Linked DNA regions of Homo sapiens: all the other regions are linked to region 1. Evidence: promoter capture Hi-C in 16 types of primary human blood cells and fetal thymus (Javierre and others, 2016). All regions are on one chromosome and are shown on one strand. The core of a region is centred on a gene start or on the middle of the fragment in contact, and the rest is flanking DNA. Distances in the headings are between cores, read along the strand shown. Region 1 holds the start of NKX6-1 (NK6 homeobox 1). Region 2 has its middle 130 kb from the start of GPAT3. Region 3 has its middle 140 kb from the start of GPAT3. Region 4 has its middle 160 kb from the start of GPAT3. Region 5 has its middle 190 kb from the start of GPAT3. Region 6 has its middle 220 kb from the start of GPAT3.

Region 1 (3,436 bases), core at 580-3,079:
GAAGGTCCGCACATCAGCTCTCTTCTGAAGCAAGTCTTGGCTTGACTCCTTAGCACTATTCATGCTGACGAAGGACTTCACCTTACCCCAGGTCAGATTCTAAAGTCCATGAAATAATAGATTTAAACCAGTCTTGAAGTTAATGAAGAAAGATAAAGGAAGAGGAGGACCAAATAACATTGCTTCTATCTTAGAAGGAAATAAAACTGGCAAATATAACCCTTCCTTCCCCCAGTTTCAGACTCAAACTCAAGCTGACCCTTAAAAACTAGTGCTTAGTAAACGAAGGTTATCGAAGCGGAGTACGCCCTCCTGGCTTTTCGTGCTTGGACCCAAATGAGCGCTTTGACACCAATAGCTAAACTCCATCCGTCGGTGGTGCTGATCAAATTTTATTCTTGAGCCATTTATTGCGTTTATTTCTGTTTTCTGCTCATTAAAATTGTAATTAATGATCTCATCCAAATTTGCTGTAGCGACCACCTTCCAATGGTGTGTTACTTTAACATGCTGAATTCTCAAAATTGTCAAAGGGTTTTCCTTCTCCAGCCCGCAGTTCAACCCTGTCGGGAACGTAAAGATCAGCCAGAGATGGAAGAGATTTAGAGAGTAAAGGAAGCCACCCTTCAACTCCTAAACTCTAGATAGACATCCCACCACCACTGTCCAGGAGCTGGTACATCTCCATCTCCCGTAGCAACTCTAGAATTGGGAGTAGGCGCCAGAGTTTTGGAGAGGGTTTTCAAAAGCTTACAGTTCCCAGGGTGTACCTAGATGCTTCTGTATCTAAAGTTTCCGCCTGAATTTTGATGATTCTACCCCCATGTAAACCCAAAGGAAATAACAACAATAATCAAAGGGAGAAAAGTTAAGGGAAAAAACTCCCTCACTGTTCTCAGGTATAAACATCATCTGACAGATAAATATTCCTATTAAACGGATTCAGTTTTCAGCGAATTGAGTAACCCATAAATGATAATGAACGCGGTGGGAAGCGACGGGCGGGGGGGAACTCGGGAATGAAAAAAAAAATAAAGTGGAGGAGAAAGAACAGAAAAGGAAAGCAGGAGGTGGAAAGATGGAAGAGGACGATCCTTTGGCCTACAAGGGGATTAAGGACATCTATAAGGCTTAAGGAGCAACAAATTAATTTACACAATTCTGGGAGAGCCCAGATGGCCTTTAATTAATCCCTTCAAAAGAAGGAGCCAGGCCAGGGCTGCGCCGGCTGCCTGCTCCATTAGCTCCATTTTACAAGGGACCAGACTTGGTTCGAGGTGAGGCGCCCTCCAGAGCTGGTGGGGGAAGGGGATAGGATGACGCGAGCGGGCTAGTGGGGAAGCAAGGGAAGAATATGAACTGCTTTTCCATAAAAGGGCTGAGTTTTCATTATTCCTCTCTTTAAAAAGTAATACCCTCTTCGTCTCTGCTTCCCCCTCCCCTTTCTCATTTTATTTAGCACAATTAATTGAGGCGGCCACTGGCCCCAGCGCGGAACCGCACCACTCACCAGCTCCCGCCCCTCCTGGCCCCGCCCACAGGAGAAAGAAGTAGGGAGCGGGAGGGGACTAGGCGGGCGCGGCCCTACGCCTGGCCCGCCTCAGCCAATCAGAGGGTGCGGCGCCCCCGAGTGGGCGAGCCCCAGGGGCGACGCAAGGATCGAGGCGGCGAGCTATTGGACACGGTGGTTACGCCCCCGGCCTGCGCCCGGCTCGCCGGCCCCCGCAGCCTCGGAGTGACGTCCCTCAAAGTTCTCATTTTGGTCCCCCACTTCCCCCTCCCTTTCGTCCCCCAGCTAAAGAGGGGTAGGGAGTGATGCAAATGTTTTATTACCTTTGAGAGCTTCATCTGAACTGTCAGGCCCGGAGGGAGAGAGGAAAGGAGAGAAAGAGCGGAGGAGCCGCGGAGAGGGTCAGTTTGGCCAGAGGACAGGACTTAGAAGACCGAAGCCTGGGAAGCCGCGAAGAAAATGCCAGAGAGGAGAGTCAAAGGCTGAGAGTGAGAGGGAGAGAGGGAGCGGGGGTGGGGCGGGGGTCGCCGGGCCCGTTTGCAGAAGTGGACTGACGAGCGGCGCCGAAACCCAGCCGTCAGACTTTTCACACTTAGTCTTTTGTTTTTCTGTGTTTTTCCTCCCCCTTTTTCTTTTCAATATTGCAACTCCAGTGCCCCGTGGGCCAGAGGGCAAGGCGGGTGGAGGTGAGGACCTGGGAGCCGCGGGGATCCGTGGCACTGCCCTTTCTGGCGCAGCAGCCCGGGGCAGCGTGGGCGGAGGAAGCCCGCACAGAGGCTAGATCTCCCGCGGGCTGGATGCGCTTTCTCCCCGGGCACAGTGAGCGTCGAATGCGAATCAGCCGCGCGACCGAAAGAGCAGAGCATCCCAGTAAGATCAGAGGAGCGCCACGGGCTGCACAAGGCGTCCTTTGAACCTCCCCAAAGAAAGCAAGCCACCCCCACCCTCCAACTTCAAAGTGGAGATTCGGCAACTAACTTTGCTACAAACTCTCCGGAGCCAGCCTGGGTTTTGTTTTGCTTATTTCCCGGGGGCAGAAGATGAGAAGTAGCGCACTTTGAACAGCTAGGAAAAGTGAGGAAGAGAGAATAGCCAGGGATCGAATCTAGGACTCGCGGAACGAAAGGACTGCCTAGCCCGCCGGGACGCCTGCTTTTCTCGGCGAGCTGCCGCCTCCCGCGTGGAGGGTTTGGACATCTCTGCTGCGCAGCTAGGCGAGCAACTCCCGGCAGCGGCATTTTTGGTTCAGTTGGCAGCTCGCCTCCGGGCGCGCCGAGTGCCTCTCCGCTCGCGCCCTCGGCGCTTCCGGCTCCTCTGAGCCCCGCGGGGGGCACCAGCCAGCGCCCTCGCTGCAAGGCTACGGTCTCCGGCGTGGCCGTGGGATGTTAGCGGTGGGGGCAATGGAGGGCACCCGGCAGAGCGCATTCCTGCTCAGCAGCCCTCCCCTGGCCGCCCTGCACAGCATGGCCGAGATGAAGACCCCGCTGTACCCTGCCGCGTATCCCCCGCTGCCTGCCGGCCCCCCCTCCTCCTCGTCCTCGTCGTCGTCCTCCTCGTCGCCCTCCCCGCCTCTGGGCACCCACAACCCAGGCGGCCTGAAGCCCCCGGCCACGGGGGGGCTCTCATCCCTCGGCAGCCCCCCGCAGCAGCTCTCGGCCGCCACCCCACACGGCATCAACGATATCCTGAGCCGGCCCTCCATGCCCGTGGCCTCGGGGGCCGCCCTGCCCTCCGCCTCGCCCTCCGGTTCCTCCTCCTCCTCTTCCTCGTCCGCCTCTGCCTCCTCCGCCTCTGCCGCCGCCGCGGCTGCTGCCGCGGCCGCAGCCGCCGCCTCATCCCCGGCGGGGCTGCTGGCCGGACTGCCACGCTTTAGCAGCCTGAGCCCGCCGCCGCCGCCGCCCGGGCTCTACTTCAGCCCCAGCGCCG
Region 2 (3,436 bases), core at 402-2,901, 840 kb after region 1:
CCCGCTAATCTTTTATTATGCAAATCGATTTTTTTACATGGCCGCGCCATGTTGTCAGCTCCTTAGGGTATATGGGATTGATAAAAGGGAAGATGGAGCCTCCATATTGAACATGCCTGGTCCCCAGGTAGCCTTTTCCTATTAGCACAGCTGCTGGCATTCACCCGTGCAAGCTTCCAGCTTGCTTATCTACGTTTGCAACCCAATTTTACAAGTTGCTTTTTGTTAGAAAAGAAATTATTTGGGGGCTGCTTTTCATTAAAAGGGAAACGTTACTGAGGACTTCCTTACCCTCACTATCTGCCTAAATAATTTCTTTTTAACTCCTATATCACAAGGAACATTGAGGGGATCCAAAATAAAGCTCACTTGCACACACGCCCCCAGGATTTCCCAATACCCACCACAACCTTGCCACAGGGTTCTTTGGGGCCACATCATTCCAACTCTAGAGAACCCCTATTAAAATGCAAAGGCATCAGATGGGAAGGGTAGGTCACTAAGCTACTATTTCCCAAACTTCAGGTATTTGCACACCGCAGCCCCATTTTTCTCTATATGGGAGTACTGCTGATAGGTGCAGGAGCAGATAAGGGGGAGGGTCCCCAGAGAATCTCCCACCGCCTGCGCACTGGGAGAACAGGGTGGTGCCACAGGAAGTTCTTACCGTGTGGTCGGGGAGGAGCCTGGCCTCTTCAGCTCATGTGTGTGACCTGGAATCAATCTGTGACGTTGGGGGCCTGTTAGCAGGACTCCCTCTCACTTTGCTGGGAGTCTTTTCTTCTTCTTCTTTTCCTTTTTTTGCCCAATAAATTCTGTTCCCCTCACCCTTCAATGAGTCTGTGTTCCTAATCCTTCGTGGTCCTGTGACAGGAACCCAGTTTCAGCTGAACTAAGGAGCAAAGTTCTGCAACACTACCTGTAGTATTTTTATCATATTTCATTGAATCCAAAACGCTCTGATGTTGACCTTTCTTGATTTAACCACAAGTATCAACTAAAGATTCTACACCACTCTAAGCACTTTGCCTGACCTAGTTCATGGACATTGTAAGTTGCATGCTGTGTCATGATTTCAGAAAGGTTAAAATAATAGTGGAGCACAATGTGAACCTTTAAAAACAGTGAAATTCAGCAATATTTTCTCCTTAAATCAACTCTTTTTTTCCTTAATAAATTTCTTTATAAAACTTTTTTTAAATCACCGTCCTAGAAACCAGTATCACTAGCATAAATAAAAGGAAACTGTGTAAATAAATGCAATGAGAACAAAGAAATAAATTTAAATTCTAGCTAATATAATTAATCAAAGTGTACATTTTTATTTATGCCTCTTCTAGTGTGTATATTATACCTAAATACAAAAAGCAGTCTAAGAAATTATTCTAGCCCCCAAGGCTTTGAGCCTGAAGGCTACACTTGCTTTATTTAAAAGGGAGATGAGCAATTTTCAAGGGTTAAAAACACACTAGCACCAAAATGAAACTTTATCCTTGACTGAATCAGAAAGACTTGAGAAGAAATTGAAAACGAAATAATTTTCACTCTACGTGATTCAATGTTATGTAATGTCACGTCCATATGCCACCACCTAAAATGTTCTCCCCCATACCACTAGTCCCACAGTGCCACTCAGTACCTAAGAGACACTGGAAAACCACCATTAACCCGTTTCAAATAAGTTTACAGAATTCATAAACTGTCATTTTGGAGTGCCAAGTAAAGGACCCTAGGCAATGGGTGAGAGGAAAGGTAAGTTCTGAGAGGTCTGTGAGGAAGGGGAGCCCAAGCATAGAGGGACATCACAGAGAAAGCAGCCTGGGGGAAAACACCAAAGAGAGCCAGCAGGAGGGCCCTGAACTGCCAGGAAGAGGCCACCTAAGTGACCTGTGCATCCGGGAAGGAGATGTCCTGGGGTGGGTCTGCAGGAAAAGGAGACAATTGAAGGCTAATTAGGGAGAATAGAAAACAAATCTTGCCAACTGAGCAATTCTGACATCACACCAGAATTCCCATTGAAATGGGCACCTGTTTATCACAACTCTTAACATTGCCCTTCCACCGAGTTAAGATACAGAGGGTTCTATGACAACACAGGCAAATAGTGTATACATAGGGATCCTGAGTTATTATGCTAAGGATTTGAGAGAAAACTAGCACTCAGTTCTGGTATTTAATCACTATTAGTTTAGGGTTTGGGGATATTTTTTGTTGTTGTTTTTGGTCTAATTCTCTTAGTTCCAATATATACCAACTCCCTCCTATATGAAGAACAATTAGCCAGAATGGTTTTCACAATAATCTTTCTTATACACTAGCTGCCTCTTTTCCAAAAAGGAGCAAGCCCACTTCCTTTAACCTAAAGATATGGCTACTTAGACAGAGATCACTTAAAAGGCAAATTCTAGGCGTTCTGAGTCAGTACGAGCAGGAAGTTGGTACTCTTAACTAAGATAACATAAAAATGGAGAATTTAACTTTTTATCACAGCCATTGGAATTCCTCACTTACTTTTTGTTTCATTCATCATTTTGTGATTCTCCTTTAATATACAGGGACCAAAATTGGTAATTATATTCTAAATAATGGTTGGCAATGCCAAGTATTCAAGAACATATCCTTGCCCTTTTCATGTCATACTCCTGTTAATCCATCTCTCAATAATGTTCCCTTTTTTAAATAACAGCCTTACTAACTGCTGACTCATATTCAATTTATGGTCCACAATACTTTAGCCAATTCTTTTCGTACCCTTGAATGCAAATCATCAGGGCCTGCACATTTACAGATCTCACTTATTTAAATTATCTCCCTCCAAGTCTTCGTTTTCCCTTTTCATTTTCCTAAAGTATGCATTACCCATTTCCAGAGCCCATTCACTTGATCATGCAGAAAGGTTTTTAAAAAAGACATTGAATGCCCTGTGGCCTTTTGATGTCATCAGTGAGTCTCTTTCTTTCCTATCTAATCAAAGGACAACACTCCATTCTAGTCTTTTCTTGCTCCTGATAGAGTAGAAAAAAAAGAAATACTCTATTTCACCTTTGGAAGTTGCATCTCATTTCCTGCTTTAGTAATTCTGACCTTACTTCTATAAACCTTTCTACAGGTATTTGTCCTTGAAGCTTCAGCTTTTTCTAGAATTTTTTTCTATTTCAGAAGCTTATGTAGTTCTTTGACAAATCAATTGGATTTTTTCTGTCTTCTCAACTTTTTTAGACATGTATGTGAACCTATTCTTCCTTTGTAACCTTGACAAAGTTCTGATGATGTACTTTAAGAAATCTAATCTCCTGCTAAGTAATTAGTTTAAAAGGAGATGAAAGGAAGGAGCCCAAGTGAGCAGAAATTTTGCTAACAAAACATATCATTATAACATAAAACGTGAACCCTAATGTAAACTATGGTCTTCAGGTGATAATGATGTGTCAGTGTA
Region 3 (3,436 bases), core at 394-2,893, 820 kb after region 1:
TTCCCAATGGTAGTAAATTAAAATGTTTGTAAGTACAATTATTAATAAACCAGAAAAATCTAAAGTATTAACAGGGGGTAGATACATGTTTTACTTAAATCTATCCTTAAAAGAGTGACTTTTTTTTCCAAAATAATAAAGTAGCAAGGGAAATGAAATGTCAAAGCTTTTTGAAAAACCATCAAGTGTTGTTCAAATGCAGGGCTTTATCACTGATATTAATAAATTTTAAAAATGTGATGTGTTAAATCCTGAAGGTGCATGCTACTCCCGTCCTCCCACTGTGACTTTCATTTATTCCATCTGTATTTTTCAAGTACCTTTCTTGTGCCTGGCATTAACCAGACACTAGGAATACAAAAGTGAGCTGTAGCCAGACATAAAATGGCAAATAATGTATGATTCCACTTACAGTAAGTATCTAGAATAGGCAAATTCATAGTGACAAAGTAGAACAGAGGCTACTAGGGACTGAGGGGAGGGAAAATGGGGAGTTGTTCTTTAATGGTTACAAAGCTCTGTTTCAGGTGATAAAGAATTGTGGAACTAGATAGTGGTGATGGTTACACAACATTGTATACGTACTTAAGGCCACTAAATTGTACACTTAAAATGGTTAAAATGATAAATTTTATGTCATGTATATTTTATCACAATGTTTTCAAAAATGAGTTGAAACAAAAATAAGTGAAATGAGCATGTTTTTTCTTCCTCCTGCCAAACAGGACCCTGTCTCCCAGTGAAATAAAAATTTAAAAAAAAAAAAAACAAAAAACAAAAACTCTGCTGATATGGATCCTGTTGCTTTCTGCTCCCCAGGAAGCTTCTTCAAGGTTCTTTATCATCTCGCATTCTGACACTAAGAATGTATTCGATTCATGGTTATTTCCACAATATTGAGTATTATCAAACTTTCATTATCTTGGATGTTCACTGAAACTCTCTTCCCACAGCTGAGTAAATATTCTTCCAACAGGAAGCCTAACAGATGAATTGTCTTGGCTCTGAAATGTATTTTCACGTCAGAACTCAGACAAGTGTGACAATTTCTTCCTCTAAGCTCCTCTTTTGAATAGTTTAGCATGGCTGAAGGCTTTACCACCTTCCCTCACCTTCAGGATATTCTTTTCCAAACACAACTTGCCATTACTAAAGACCATCTCCTCCCAGGAGAGAGAGCAATGCCCTGGCCTAGAAAGGGGAGGCAGTTTCAGTTGGAGAATCAAGCAATACACTCAAGAAAGCTGAATTCTGCTTTCAGTTCTGTTCCCAGTTTAATCATAAGATCAAAGCATACCCTTCCAATTCTTCTCTAGGTAAAAGGAGAGATTATAACACCTCCTAAAAAAAACTCACTATAATTTAATAACCCAATTTCTAAGAAAACACATTATGAAAAAGACTTAAGCAGAGCAAAATTATTTGGGTCTTTAAGGAATTAAATCATTTTGGTTGGGATCCAAGACCAACCCAATTTATATTAAATTAAAGTTATTACTGTTATAGTCAAGTTGTTGAGTGTAGGATTCATTTGGCATAGTATTCACTGATGTGTTTGTTGTACTACTATAAGAATGTAATTAGGCTTATTTATATATGTCAGCCTTGTCACTCACCTTAAATTTCATCTTCAGTTGCTCACCAAGTTGACTAATTTGCCATTCTTTAAATTCATGCCTCATTCTAAATGAGGTTTTCCAACCTCATCTCTAGTGACATCTTGAACTAGATGATTCAGGTAATTTATTGTTATGAGAGCCCGTCTTGTGCATTGCAGGACGTTTAGCAGCATCTCTGCTCACTACACCCCTCTCCAAATGTTATAATAAACAAAAATGTCTTTTTTTTTTTTTTTTTGAGAAAGAGTCTTGCTTTGTCACCCAGGCTGGAGTGCAGTGGCATGATCTCGGTTCACTGCAACCTTCGCCTCCCAGGTTCAAGTGATTCTCTTGCCTAAGCCCCTGGAGTAGCTGGGATCATAGGTGCGTGCCACCATGCCTGGCTAATTTTTGTATTTTTAGTACAGACCGTGTTTCCCCACGTTAACCAGGCTGGTCTCGAACTCCTGACCTCAAGTGATCCACCTGCCTCAGCCTCCCAAACTGCTGGGATTACAGGCACGAGCCACCGCACCCAGCCAAAAATGTCTTTAGACATTGCCAAATGTCCCCAGGGAAGAAAATTCCACTCCCTCTCCCACCCAGTACGGTTAAGAACCACCTCCACAGACTTTGTTTCTAGTGGTGTATTATAACTAACATTGAATAACTACTCCTGTCAACAGCATCATCCATCCCTTCAGAACTCCTACATGGCCACAGTTTGTCTCACCTCCGTCTTTCAGAATGCCTCCTTTGCTCTGAGGAGTAGGGTAATTCTTGTCCAAAAATATCTTCTACTGCATAGCCCTAGTGTGAGAGTCTGAAAAGTATCTGAAAGATAGTCGGTCTCTTAAAAGCTTCATCATTACTGAAAATCGCAAGCTGGAAATGCTTAAATAAGTTTTGAGGTAGGGCTTGTAGATGAGATTCAGATAAAAATCAAAACTGATTAGAAACAGTCACCACAACTCAAAAGGAATCTTACTAAAATCCTTTTAGAAAACTCAGAAACAGAAAAACAAAAAGTTGTGTAATCTTTTCAGAAACACCCACTCACTTCACATTGTTTTAATTCAAACTCAGTGAGAACTAAAGAGCAGAGAAATATTCCCTGTGTGTCAGATCCTATATTGTAACTCTCTTGAACTTTTCTAGCAAAAAAAATGGATTCTTTTCATAAACCGTTCCAGACTCTATGTGGCAAATGTGTCTAATTCAGTGTGATTGGAAACATTTTCCACAAACTTTCTCCCTGACCCTAAGATCAGCTTCATAAATCTCAGATGGTCCTTGAGAGACTACAATGTGATTTGAAATATTGGAAAACTTGAGATTTCAGGAAACTGATGTAAACTGTTTGATGTTTACCCCTCACTTTCAAATTTCCCAGACTCTCTAATGAGCCTTTTGGGGTGTTTCTTCCAATCGATTGCCAAGGTAAACATGGGTACATTTGAGAAAGAAAAGGAGGAAAAATATTTCCACAATTCTGAGTACTTTCTACCTCTACAACTGGATTGGTCCTGCAAAGGAGGAAAAAATCCTTTTTCTTGGATAGTAAGATAAATCTCCTACTTTTAAATACCATAAGCATGACCTGAGGAAGTACAACTTTTAAGTATTAACAATTTCATAAATTCCTTTATTCAGTCAATAAGTATCCTTTGTGTTTTCCAAGGTAAGAGCCAGGCAGACAAAAGTCCAGGAACTAAAATTTCAATTCTTTGGTCTCAACTACCTATCAAAAGGCATTAGTGAACAGGAGCTGAAACTGTGTGCTTAAGCCCAGATATGTATTGTTAAGTGTGACATGCTCAATTTATCATTAGTTATGA
Region 4 (3,436 bases), core at 657-3,156, 800 kb after region 1:
CTAAGCCAGGATTAGGAAGGGTCAGAGACTCTAAGAAATGATTCAGGCACTTTGGCTTGTTTTTAATCCTGGGAACATTTACTAACTTTGGAAGGTGAAGTTGAGAGGCTTAAAGACTGAGCAATCTTTCGGGATTGAGGGACTGACAGAGTCCAAGATGTGCCAAGGGATAGAAAAGCTTTGGTAAAGCCACCTTTCTTTGGATTAGTACCCTGAATAACTACCCCTTTGCAGAAGGGATAATCCAGAAGAAGAATGATCTTTAAAAAGATTGTAATCTAAATTTCAATTATTGAGATAATTCCTGTTGCCTGGTAGAAGCAAATGTAGAGCCTCTATGTAAAAAGACCTTATCATTCTAAACCTCAAAATTATTTTCCCCAACAATTTTGCAAATACAATTTTCTGCATGCAGTCAAAAATAACCAGGCAAATTATGAGATAAGACAACATAAACAGAAACAGCAGAAACAATAGACAGTAGAACAAAACCTACAGTGGCTCGAGAAAGAGTAGTCACTACACAGCAACTGTAATATAATTATGAAAACTATATTCAAGAAGATAAAAGAAACTATATAGACTGTAGGTAAAGAACTGGGAACTATAAAAAATAACTACATGGAAATTCTAAAACTAAGACAAATTATAATAACCAAAAATAAGATCTTAACAAATGGATTTAAAAGCAGAGTACATTACATTAAAAAAAGAATGAACAGGAAAAAATCAGAAGAAAATAAGAACTAAAGTATGAAGATATGAAAAGATTTTTAAATGTGATAGAGAGAATAAGACATACAGAGAACACTGAAAAGTTTGAATATGCATGGAGTCACAGAAAGGAGAAAGATAATGTAAAAAAGCAATAGCTGAAGAAAATATGATAGAACTATTTAAAACTGATGGAAAACATAAAGCTATGGATTCAAGAAGGCCTATAAAAGCCAAGGATAAAAAGAAAATTACAGAGCCATAATATTACTGAAGGATGACTTCTCAATAGAAACAATGAGGGCCAGAAATATTAGAATGGTATTTTTAAACTTGCAAAAGGAAGTAACTTACAGTCTAGAATTCTACACACTGCAAAAATGTCTTTCAAAAGTGAGAGTAAAATAAAGACATTTTCAGACAAACAGAACTGAATTTGTCACCAGCAGACCCACTCTAAGTGGAATTGTAAAGGTTTGTCACTACATTTTTTTTCATAATTTTATGTAAATTTATTGAAGAGAAATGATGCTTGCTAAATTAAAATCTGATCAGTTGAGTGTATGTCGGTATCACTCTTTTAGCAAACTAATAACTGCATAAACATTTCTTGCATGTGTTAAAACTTCGGGCTCCTACAGATCAACTTTTTGATGATTATAGAATAGCACAATTATTTTATATTCTTACAATTACTGCTTACATAATGCAGAATAATACCTACTTTAGTAAAAATCTATTCATCTCATCATGTTCTTGTTCCTAAAAGTAAGGAACTAAGGTTTCATTTAGGGTGGCTCAGTTGGTCTGTTTTGGAAAGGGAAAAGGTAAGGTTAGGTAGTTTATGTTGCTATATATTGATTCACAATCCTGGGACCTTCTGTTCGAAGATACAAAAAATACATACATCCTAATAATTGCATTCTTACACTAACTTTTGGGGCTAGAATTATCATTTTACTTGCCAATGACCTACATAGTAGCCTAAACCAAAAATCATATAGGATATTGTTATGTTTTCCCAATTTAAGTATAAAAATATTTATATGTTCCACTTGTTCCTTTTCACGGTTTCCACCATGCTCTATTGGCTTACACCTGGCATTTTGTGTGACAGAGGTTTCAACTTTAGAAATGCCAAAAAACAAAATGTGGGTACAAGAAGGAAAAGATGACAGAGTTGGTTTTTTTCTTTTTTTTTTTTTTTTGAGATGAATTCTCACTCTGTAGCCAGGCCAGAGTGCAGTGGTGTGATCTCAGCTCACTGCAGCCTCCCTCTCCCAGGTTCAAGTGATTCTCCTGCCTCAGCCTCCCGAGTAGCTGGGACTACAGGTGTGCGTCACCATGACCAGCTAATTTTTGTATTTTTAGTAGAGACAGGATTTCACCATGTTGGCCAGGATAGTCTCGATCTCTGGACCTTGTAATCCACCTGCCTCAAACTCCCAAAGTGTTGGGATTACAGGTGTAAGCCACCGCTCCTGGCCAGATATTTTAATTTATCAAGATTTACGTAAAACAAGGAAAAACGACTGTTACTTTAACATTTGTCACTAAAGTGCTTCTTAGGAAGAAAATTTGTCTTTAAGTAAGAAATATTTTTAAAACCTATTACATATAAAGATAAGACCTTGAGATTAAGGATTGGCTAGGGAAATGAGACAAGCACCTCTGTAGGCAAATATAGGTGAATGGGAGGGCTCTAGAAAAGAGAGAGAAGAGGGAAGGAGAAAGGGAAACAAGGAAGGCTGGGTAAACTGGCAGGTGGCTGGAGCCTACATAAGAAGCCAATTAACCAAGATAGCTGAAGGATTTTAAAGAACAGGATATTTAATACTTAATGGTATGCTGTTTATGCCTCTGAGTTAGGAAACCCCTCCACTATTGTAAAGCGTCTACTAAATTCTGCTATAAACAAAAGTTTCCTGTGAGTTTTTTGGGAAGAAAGCTAGGAAAGGGGGCCAAGTTCTGTATCTGTAATTTGTTAAATATAAAAAAAAAATACAAGATAAAATGTTCATTAAATTGAAAGTTCAGGGAAAACAGGAACTTAGAGTTAAAAGTGAGTGTTAAAATGTAGATTTACAAGAATTTGCGAAATTTTGACCAACTGCTGAGATTCTCAAAGAATACTAGGAAGCCTTTCCTTAAAAATCTCATATACAAGGTGACTTCAGTTGATATCTGGATCATGTCTTTTTTTACTATTTAAAAATTTACATTATTCCTACCACCAAAAGCACTGGAAAGAATACTTGAGAAACACAGGCTTAATTGAAGATGACAATGGCATCCTACTGCTAGAAATTATCAAGATAGAGTATTTTCATTAAGCAAATCAAAATCCAGAAAAGATAATAAACATCTTCCAGGTCCCAACATTACCTCCTTGATTCCGCTTTGACTTCAATTCCTAATGCTATGTTGGGCACTTAGTAGGAGCCCAAGAAACTATTGTTAAACTAAATCTATGGACAAAGGACTTGGTTTTATTAAGGTCTTTTCCTTAATACGGAATATTGCTACATTAGAGTTTCCATTAGACCGCTGGTATTCATGCAAGTGGACACATATAAGGACTTTCAAACTTGTTAGAGCATAAAAATACCATTTTAGAAATTACTTATCCTGGAATAATATTTCTTAGAGAATTATCACTGGAAGGTTGAAAAAAAGATCTGATATTTTATCTGAATAAAGGTACTCACTAAAGCAGAGTTTG
Region 5 (3,436 bases), core at 624-3,123, 780 kb after region 1:
ACTGAGCCACCCTTACAATACTCATGTTTTTAAAATTTCAAATAATGAGTCCACCAAGTCAACCTGGACTTGGGGTGGTATGCTCCACGTCCTGTGCTATATGCTAGGAATACACAGACGTGTAAAAGAGAGGTCCTGCCTGTGGGCAGCCACAGTCCAAAAAGAAAGCATATAAACAAATAATTAAAATACAGGTGGTAAGTGGCATAATGAAAGAATAAACAAAGTGCTATGGTTGTATAGAAAATGCTATTGCTCAGCTGAGAAGAGTAAAAGAAAAATGTCAATTCAATGCAGTTCAGAAAATTAGAGGGTATCTGAATACTTACTATTACAGGCATCAGTAAATATCATCTGGCAATTGTGTCATCATACCTAAAAACACTACTATTCAAAGTCATAAGCAAATTCACTTAGAAAGTCACTGAGAAAAGCTAAGAATGAACTGGAAGGTGAGACTTTGCCTCTGGTGCTATAGCACTGATATTTCACTGGTGTTGCCTCCTACAGAGGCTTTATAAGGTGCAATGCTCTATAAAGGATCTCTCAAAATCGATGTTTGTCCTTGGCGTGTTTTCATCCAAAAGTGAAAGCTAATCATTTTTTACTCATTGGAGATTCTCTTAATTTCACAGTCAATGAAACACAGATTTCACTGCAAGCCAAAAGTTGAATTTTGCAAAGGTCAAAGGGAAAATTCAAGTTGCTGTGTCAGTGAGTCTCAAACCACAGGCTGAGATGTGCTGATCTGTCACAGCAGAATAACCTCAACACGGGACTGACTCCTTGCCTGACAGGGAGCATTGGGGGAACACAGATCCTCAGGACAGGTCCACAAAGAGGCAGGTCCACATTGCAGCAAGGTCCTCCAGTCGGTTAAAATTGATCTTTCTTTTTTTTTTCCAATTTAAAAATACTAATGTCTTTCGAAATTGCTTAGAGGTTGTGTGAATTTAGTGAACAAACACTTTTAAATACCTTCAATAAGCTTATACTTAGTCAAGTTTAAGGTTGAAAGAGAGAAAAAGAGTCGTTCAATATATTTTTAAAGTTGTATATATAAATAAATTTATATATTTTTAATATAACATATAAATATGTCGATTTATATATATAACTTTAAAATTATGTTAAATAGCTGTATATATTATATACAACTATATATATACAATTCTAGGCCAGACGCAGTAGCTCATGCCTGTAATCCCAATACTTTGGGAAGCACAGCCCAGGATTGCTTGAGCCTAGGAGTTCGAGACTAGCCTAGGCAACATAGTGAGACTTTGTCTCTAAAAAAAAACTAGCAAAATACCCAGGTGTGGTGGCTCACACCTGTTGCCTCAGCTACTTGGGAGACTGAAACAGGAAAATCGCTTGAGCCTGGGAGGTTGAGGTTGCAGTGAGCTGAGATTGCACCACTGCACTCCAGCCTGGATGACAGAGTAAGACCCTGTCTCAAAAACATAAATAAATAAACAATCCTATAGATCTCTGAATAACTATGTTGAATTCTCATCACATGAGCTTTCAATGATGTGTGTCTCTCCAGCCCTTGCTGTATGTATGTCAATAGAAATTCTATGAAGGGAAATGGCTCTGGAGGAATACCAGATTCTCAACCAAAAGGTGACAATACAATAAAAAATTATTTCAGTGAAAAAGAAAAGTTAGCTGTATAAGGGTGTACACTAATAAACAGATTTAAAACTTTACGTACAATAAATGAAAAGAGGATATAATCTGGAAGAAATTTTTCTCAGTGCATAAAGCTGTAGGAATATTGTTTTGAAAGATAAAATCTGGAATGGATTGAAGATTGAGAAAAATTCTATAGAGAAAATATGCCTCTTTTTTTAAGCTGTATTTATTGTCACAAAAACAAAATATCAAGGCCAACTCATTGTGACAGATATGAGGAGTCAGAACTAGTCAATGCCTGTTTTGTTTCAGCCTTCTCTATCCACAGCATGACTTTCACTCCTGAGAGGAGAGCGCTGATGTGGTTGAAGAGGAAGTAGAGCCCCGGGAAGGTGGAAGATAGTCAGGACCCAGCAAGCAGTTTGAAATAAATTCAAGTTTCGGGACCCAAAATAATAACTTTCCAGAGTATTAAAAAGACCACAATTATCATCCCACAATTACTGTCAAAATCCCAAGAAATTAAGGGAAAGGGAAAGGTTCCCCAAAACTAGATGAGAGCAAACATCTATATTTCCAAAAGAAATAAAGCGGACCCAAGGAACATTTTATGTTGAATCCCAGGATAATTCTAGATGTCTTGTGAGCACTGGAAAATAAAAGTGGGGTTCACTTGGATAACCCAGACTAACAAACAGGAGGGCCAGAGATTTACTCCATCTTGATTTCATCAGAGCATTTAATAAAATGGCTGGGATCTTTGTATTCAAGATGGAGAAATGGGGCTGAGGGAGTGAGAATGTGCAGAATTTATAGCTGGTTGAACAGTGTTAATTAAGTAACAGAGGGAACCCAGGGGAAGTTGGTATGCTGGAGTGCAGGTCCAAGAATCTGTGTGTTCAATTTTACTTTCTTGAAAGAAGACATCTCTCATACTGTAGTTGGCCCAGGGTGAGAGGAGAAGCTAACATTGCCAAAGGCTGCCAGCCTTACAATTTTTAAATAAGTTGGGAGCTGGCTGATGAGCCAGAAATAATAAGATAAAGTGTAATAAAAATAAATGTAAAGCCCAACATCCTCATTCAATAAATTGGAGCTCACAAACCAACCTCAAGCTTAACTGTGACCTAGAAAAAGAAGTCCCATTAAATGCAGGAGCAGCACAAGCATCATTTAAAGTTCAACAAATAAGATTCTACACTTAGTCCTAGCCAATTTAAAAAAAACAAATAAAATAAATAAAAACAACCAGTAAAGATAAAAGATTGATATCCAGGCAATATGACTAGATACTCAGAAAGTACAAGAGAATCAAACAATTAGAAAACTATCTTTGAAAGCAAATAAGGCCAGAAGTAGTGGCACATGCCTATAATCCCAACACTTTGGGAGGCGGAAGCAGGTGGACCACTTGAGGTTAGAGTTCAAGACCAGCCTGGCCAACATGGTGACACCCTGTCTCCACAAAAAATACAAAAATTAGCCGGGCGTGGTGGCATGCACCTGTAATCCCAGCTCCTCCGGAGGCTGAGGCAGGAGAATCTCTTGAACCTGGGAGGCGGAGGTTGCAGTGAGCTGAGATTGCGCCACTGTACTCCAGCCTGGGTGACAAAATAAGACTCCGTCTCAGAAAAAAAAAAGCTACTAAAAGTAGTAATCCAAGATGAAGTTACAAAAATTGAATGCTTTTCTATATTTCTAGAAAAGCCATTTCAAAAATGTTTTAAAATCTCATGTAGAATTGTGAAAATAAATAAAAAATAAAATATCTAGAAATAACTGAAAATAAATGGCAGGA
Region 6 (3,436 bases), core at 384-2,883, 740 kb after region 1:
TGAATGTAATCTCTCAAGGGTTGTCACTGTTTCTAAAGCATGGCTCACGCAATAACAGCACTGGCAATTTCATCGCTCATCGCAGTTAATATATTTCAGTATGATCGAACCATAGTTTACAGGAAATTGCTAAACTATTAATGTCATGGATGAGGAAATCAGTACATGAGATAGCCAACTCCTAAAAATCTGAGAAAATGAGAAGTTGAGGGAATGGAGCTTGTTCAGTTGCTGAGATAACATTAACAGTGTGAGTGCCGTGGCTAAGATTTCAGCTTGGAGAGGATGGGTAAAGGCAGACCCATGGCCTCAAAGGGCAAGAAGAAGCTTCCTTAAGTCTAGATGTCACTGGTGGAGTGAGGCAAGCTTTTTCTTGGACATATGTGAGCTCTCACGGGACATGAGCAGTTTTAGAATTTGGGGGGTGGGGTTTAAGAGTTTTAGAAGTAAAGACATCCGTATCAGTCTGCTCAGGCTGCCATAATAAAACACCAGACTGCGTGGCTTGAACAACAGAAATGCGTTTTCTCATAGTTCTGAAGGCTGGAAAGTCCAAGATCAATGTCCAGTAGGGTTCAGTTTCTTGTGAGTGCTCTATCCCTGGCTTGCAAATGACCACCTTCTTACTATGTCCTCACATACATCCTCTCTCTGTTTTCTTCTTCTCATAAGGATACCAGCTCTATCAGATTAGGGCCCCGTGCTTTTGATCTTACTTAATGTTAATTACCTCCTAAAAGCACTATATTCAAATACAGTGACATTGAGGGTTAGGACTTAAACATCTAAGTTGGAGGGGGGCATGGGACACAAATTAGTCCATAGCAATGTCCAAAGAGCAAGAAGTCTAACCTCTTTGTCTTTCAGATGAAGAAACTAAAGTCACTCTTCTTATATACTCTTTTTCAGCAAGAATTAAGGGCTAAAATAATTCAACAGGTGCTAGGTGCCCACATTCTAAAATAAGGGGCTAAACTACGTAAGTTGGATGTGCTGAGAGACTGGAAACCATGCTAACATCATATGGTTACCACTTTCAAGCTACACAAGAGGAGACAAAGAATTCACATAGGTGTTAAGGATGTTGGAGAGAGGGGATTTTAATGCAGATGTTGGGGAGAGAGGATATTGAAGAGAAAATATTGTTCCTGAGCAGCATGGTGTCTCTCTCCCACTTCAAAGGGGGAGAATAATGGGCACTTTCTCTCCAATGAGATGCAACAAAAACTTGGCAAGTGACCCCAGGAATTTGACAGACAGAGACACTGGTGCCTGACTCTCAAGAGTGTAAGTCTAAAACTGAAAGATTATGGCTAGATTAGATTGCAACAGAGTAAGGAGAAAGGACTCTACGGGGAGATGGCTGAGCTTTATATCAAAGACAACCACCCCACAGAGTAAATTGACCTCAACAGAAGTTCAAGAGGCTGCAGTCAGAGGTCCCCAGTGCAGGACCTCTAATGAACTCACCAAAGGGTCCCATGAGAACAAGTGCCAGTTACTGTCTATCTGCTGCATAAAGAGCTCACTGGTGTCAGATTCTAGAGTAACCACTCTATGTGCTCTTTATCCCTTGTCCATGTACTTCCCACACCCTCCCCTCCTGAGCCTGACCCATCAGGGATCAGAAGCAGCAACTGGCAGAATGGGGGAGGAGTGAATTTCAGAAAATGCAGTGAGCACTTTTTGGACTTATCACAAAATGTTTTGTTTTAAGGTGGTCTTTATCAAGCTGAGCACAGATGCATGAGTAACCCCATCAAGATCAGCCTCAAATGCTATATCTCATTGCTAACTACCATGCACGTACAAATATACCTCAAAGTTGTTTACCTATAATGATACCTAAAACTTTGAATAAAACTTCAAGTAAGTTAAATGAATTTTATGTGTGGAATGCTAACTGTACTTGAAAATAAATATGTTCCTGATACCTTGTTGACAAAACACCCAGGGATAGAGAAAATGTTGGTGAGCTAGAAATCAGAGAGACCTAACTTCTAGGGCCAGCTCCACAACTAACTTTTTCTAGGGCCTTGAGTAAGTCTCTCTGGGCCTCATTTTCCCCATCATTAAGAGCAAGATGTTGGACTCAATGAGCTCTATGGTTTTACGATTTTTTTTAATTCTTCTCTAAATCTTTCAGTATCTCACAAACAAAGGCATTTATTTGAAATTTTAAAATCCTAGAAATGATACCTCAATTTAACAGTTGAATAATTAGGGACCCAGAGAAATTCAGAAAGTTTTCCATTGTCACGCAATGAAAGAGTAGCAGTGCCAGAACAAGAAGCCAGTTCTTTGGAATCCAAGGTCAAGAGTATTTCCAAACACCATGCTGCCTTTCTACACAAGATGGCATGATTTCTCAAAGACTCTTACAGCTATTAACAAACATCATCCACAGCTACTTCTGGCTGCCCAAAGCCATCTGTATTACTGTGATAGATTGTAAAACTGTCACAAGTTCATCTCTTTCCTGTATCTAGGACCCCTGCCATACAACCACGAGTGCCTCCCATTCTGACTCTGGGCTCAGCCAACAGACTCCCCTTGGGCAATGGGACATTAGCAAATGTGATCCAAGCAGAAACTTGATAAGCACTTGTGTGGTAGGGCCTGTCCTCTTTCTGGCTGTCCTTAGAACTCTGAGTCACCATGTGAATGAGCCCAGACTAGCCTGCAAGATAATGAGGGACATGTGACCCAGTCATCCCTGGCACCCCACCCACCACCAGTCAACCCCAGAAGCAGAGCAGCATAGCGACCAGCAGTTGACTACAGATGCATGAGTGTGTCCAGTTAGGATCAGCAGAAGAACCATCTGAGCCCTACCCAAATTGCTGAACAATAGACTCCTGAGTTAAAGAAATGGCTTTGGTTTTAAGCTATTAAGCTTTGGATTGATTTATAACACAACACAACAAAGTATATAAATATACATATGTATAATCTATATATATACACACACACACACATACATACATGTTCCACATATATATATGATATAACTCCCCAAGCGAACTCTCAAAGGGATTTCTGCATGAAGCTGACAGCTACAACTAATTAGTGCAACGAGAGGATAAAGTTATTTTAAAGTTTCAAAGAACCCAGCAGTCAATAGCAACATGTTCTGTGTCCAGGTGATTAGTTTACAAATCTAAGCAGGTCCTTGACAGTTTAATATTTCTCTGAAAATCTTTAGGGCCAGGTTTCACAACAGCACTTGGTTGAATATTCATTCATATGCACTGTTTTCCCATTTTCTTAAAATGCCAGTAGTTCCAGGATTTACTATACTTTTATCAGATTCATATCTCAAGACTAAACTTGAATTCTACCAAGTCATCAATGAGATATTATGAGAAAAAAACAAATGAAGTACATGCTAATTCTTCTCAAAAGCTAGGTTTATAACTGAGTATTTCAGTGAAAA

The links. The method cuts DNA at HindIII sites, captures the fragments that hold promoters and counts their contacts. A CHiCAGO score of 5 or more calls a contact.
Region 2: a contact is called between a fragment that was not itself captured here and the fragment with the promoter of NKX6-1 in region 1, in 10 of 17 cell types (megakaryocytes, M0 macrophages, M1 macrophages and 7 more). The highest score is 11.1, in megakaryocytes.
Region 3: a contact is called between a fragment that was not itself captured here and the fragment with the promoter of NKX6-1 in region 1, in 7 of 17 cell types (megakaryocytes, M0 macrophages, M2 macrophages and 4 more). The highest score is 9.6, in megakaryocytes.
Region 4: a fragment that was not itself captured here is called in contact with the fragment with the promoter of NKX6-1 in region 1 in 1 of 17 cell types (M1 macrophages); the score reaches 5.2 in M1 macrophages.
Region 5: a fragment that was not itself captured here is called in contact with the fragment with the promoter of NKX6-1 in region 1 in 3 of 17 cell types (M1 macrophages, M0 macrophages and monocytes); the score reaches 9.2 in M1 macrophages.
Region 6: a fragment that was not itself captured here is called in contact with the fragment with the promoter of NKX6-1 in region 1 in 2 of 17 cell types (M1 macrophages and M2 macrophages); the score reaches 5.7 in M1 macrophages.

Annotation. Positions count from the first base shown.
Region 1 is chr4:84,497,685-84,501,120 of GRCh38, reverse strand. NKX6-1 (NK6 homeobox 1) reads left to right here and starts at 1,829. Exons shown (of 3, transcript NM_006168.3): 1 at 1,829-3,436. The coding sequence starts at 2,893. The HindIII fragment of the contact is 5,978 bases long and covers 752-3,436 here.
Region 2 is chr4:83,660,838-83,664,273 of GRCh38, reverse strand. No RefSeq gene overlaps it. Among named protein-coding and RNA genes, the nearest start is that of GPAT3, 130 kb to the right of the region's middle. The HindIII fragment of the contact is 2,952 bases long and covers 176-3,127 here.
Region 3 is chr4:83,677,006-83,680,441 of GRCh38, reverse strand. No RefSeq gene overlaps it. Among named protein-coding and RNA genes, the nearest start is that of GPAT3, 140 kb to the right of the region's middle. The HindIII fragment of the contact is 1,635 bases long and covers 826-2,460 here.
Region 4 is chr4:83,694,935-83,698,370 of GRCh38, reverse strand. No RefSeq gene overlaps it. Among named protein-coding and RNA genes, the nearest start is that of GPAT3, 160 kb to the right of the region's middle. The HindIII fragment of the contact is 3,451 bases long and covers 181-3,436 here.
Region 5 is chr4:83,720,238-83,723,673 of GRCh38, reverse strand. No RefSeq gene overlaps it. Among named protein-coding and RNA genes, the nearest start is that of GPAT3, 190 kb to the right of the region's middle. The HindIII fragment of the contact is 1,765 bases long and covers 991-2,755 here.
Region 6 is chr4:83,756,477-83,759,912 of GRCh38, reverse strand. No RefSeq gene overlaps it. Among named protein-coding and RNA genes, the nearest start is that of GPAT3, 220 kb to the right of the region's middle. The HindIII fragment of the contact is 2,530 bases long and covers 369-2,898 here.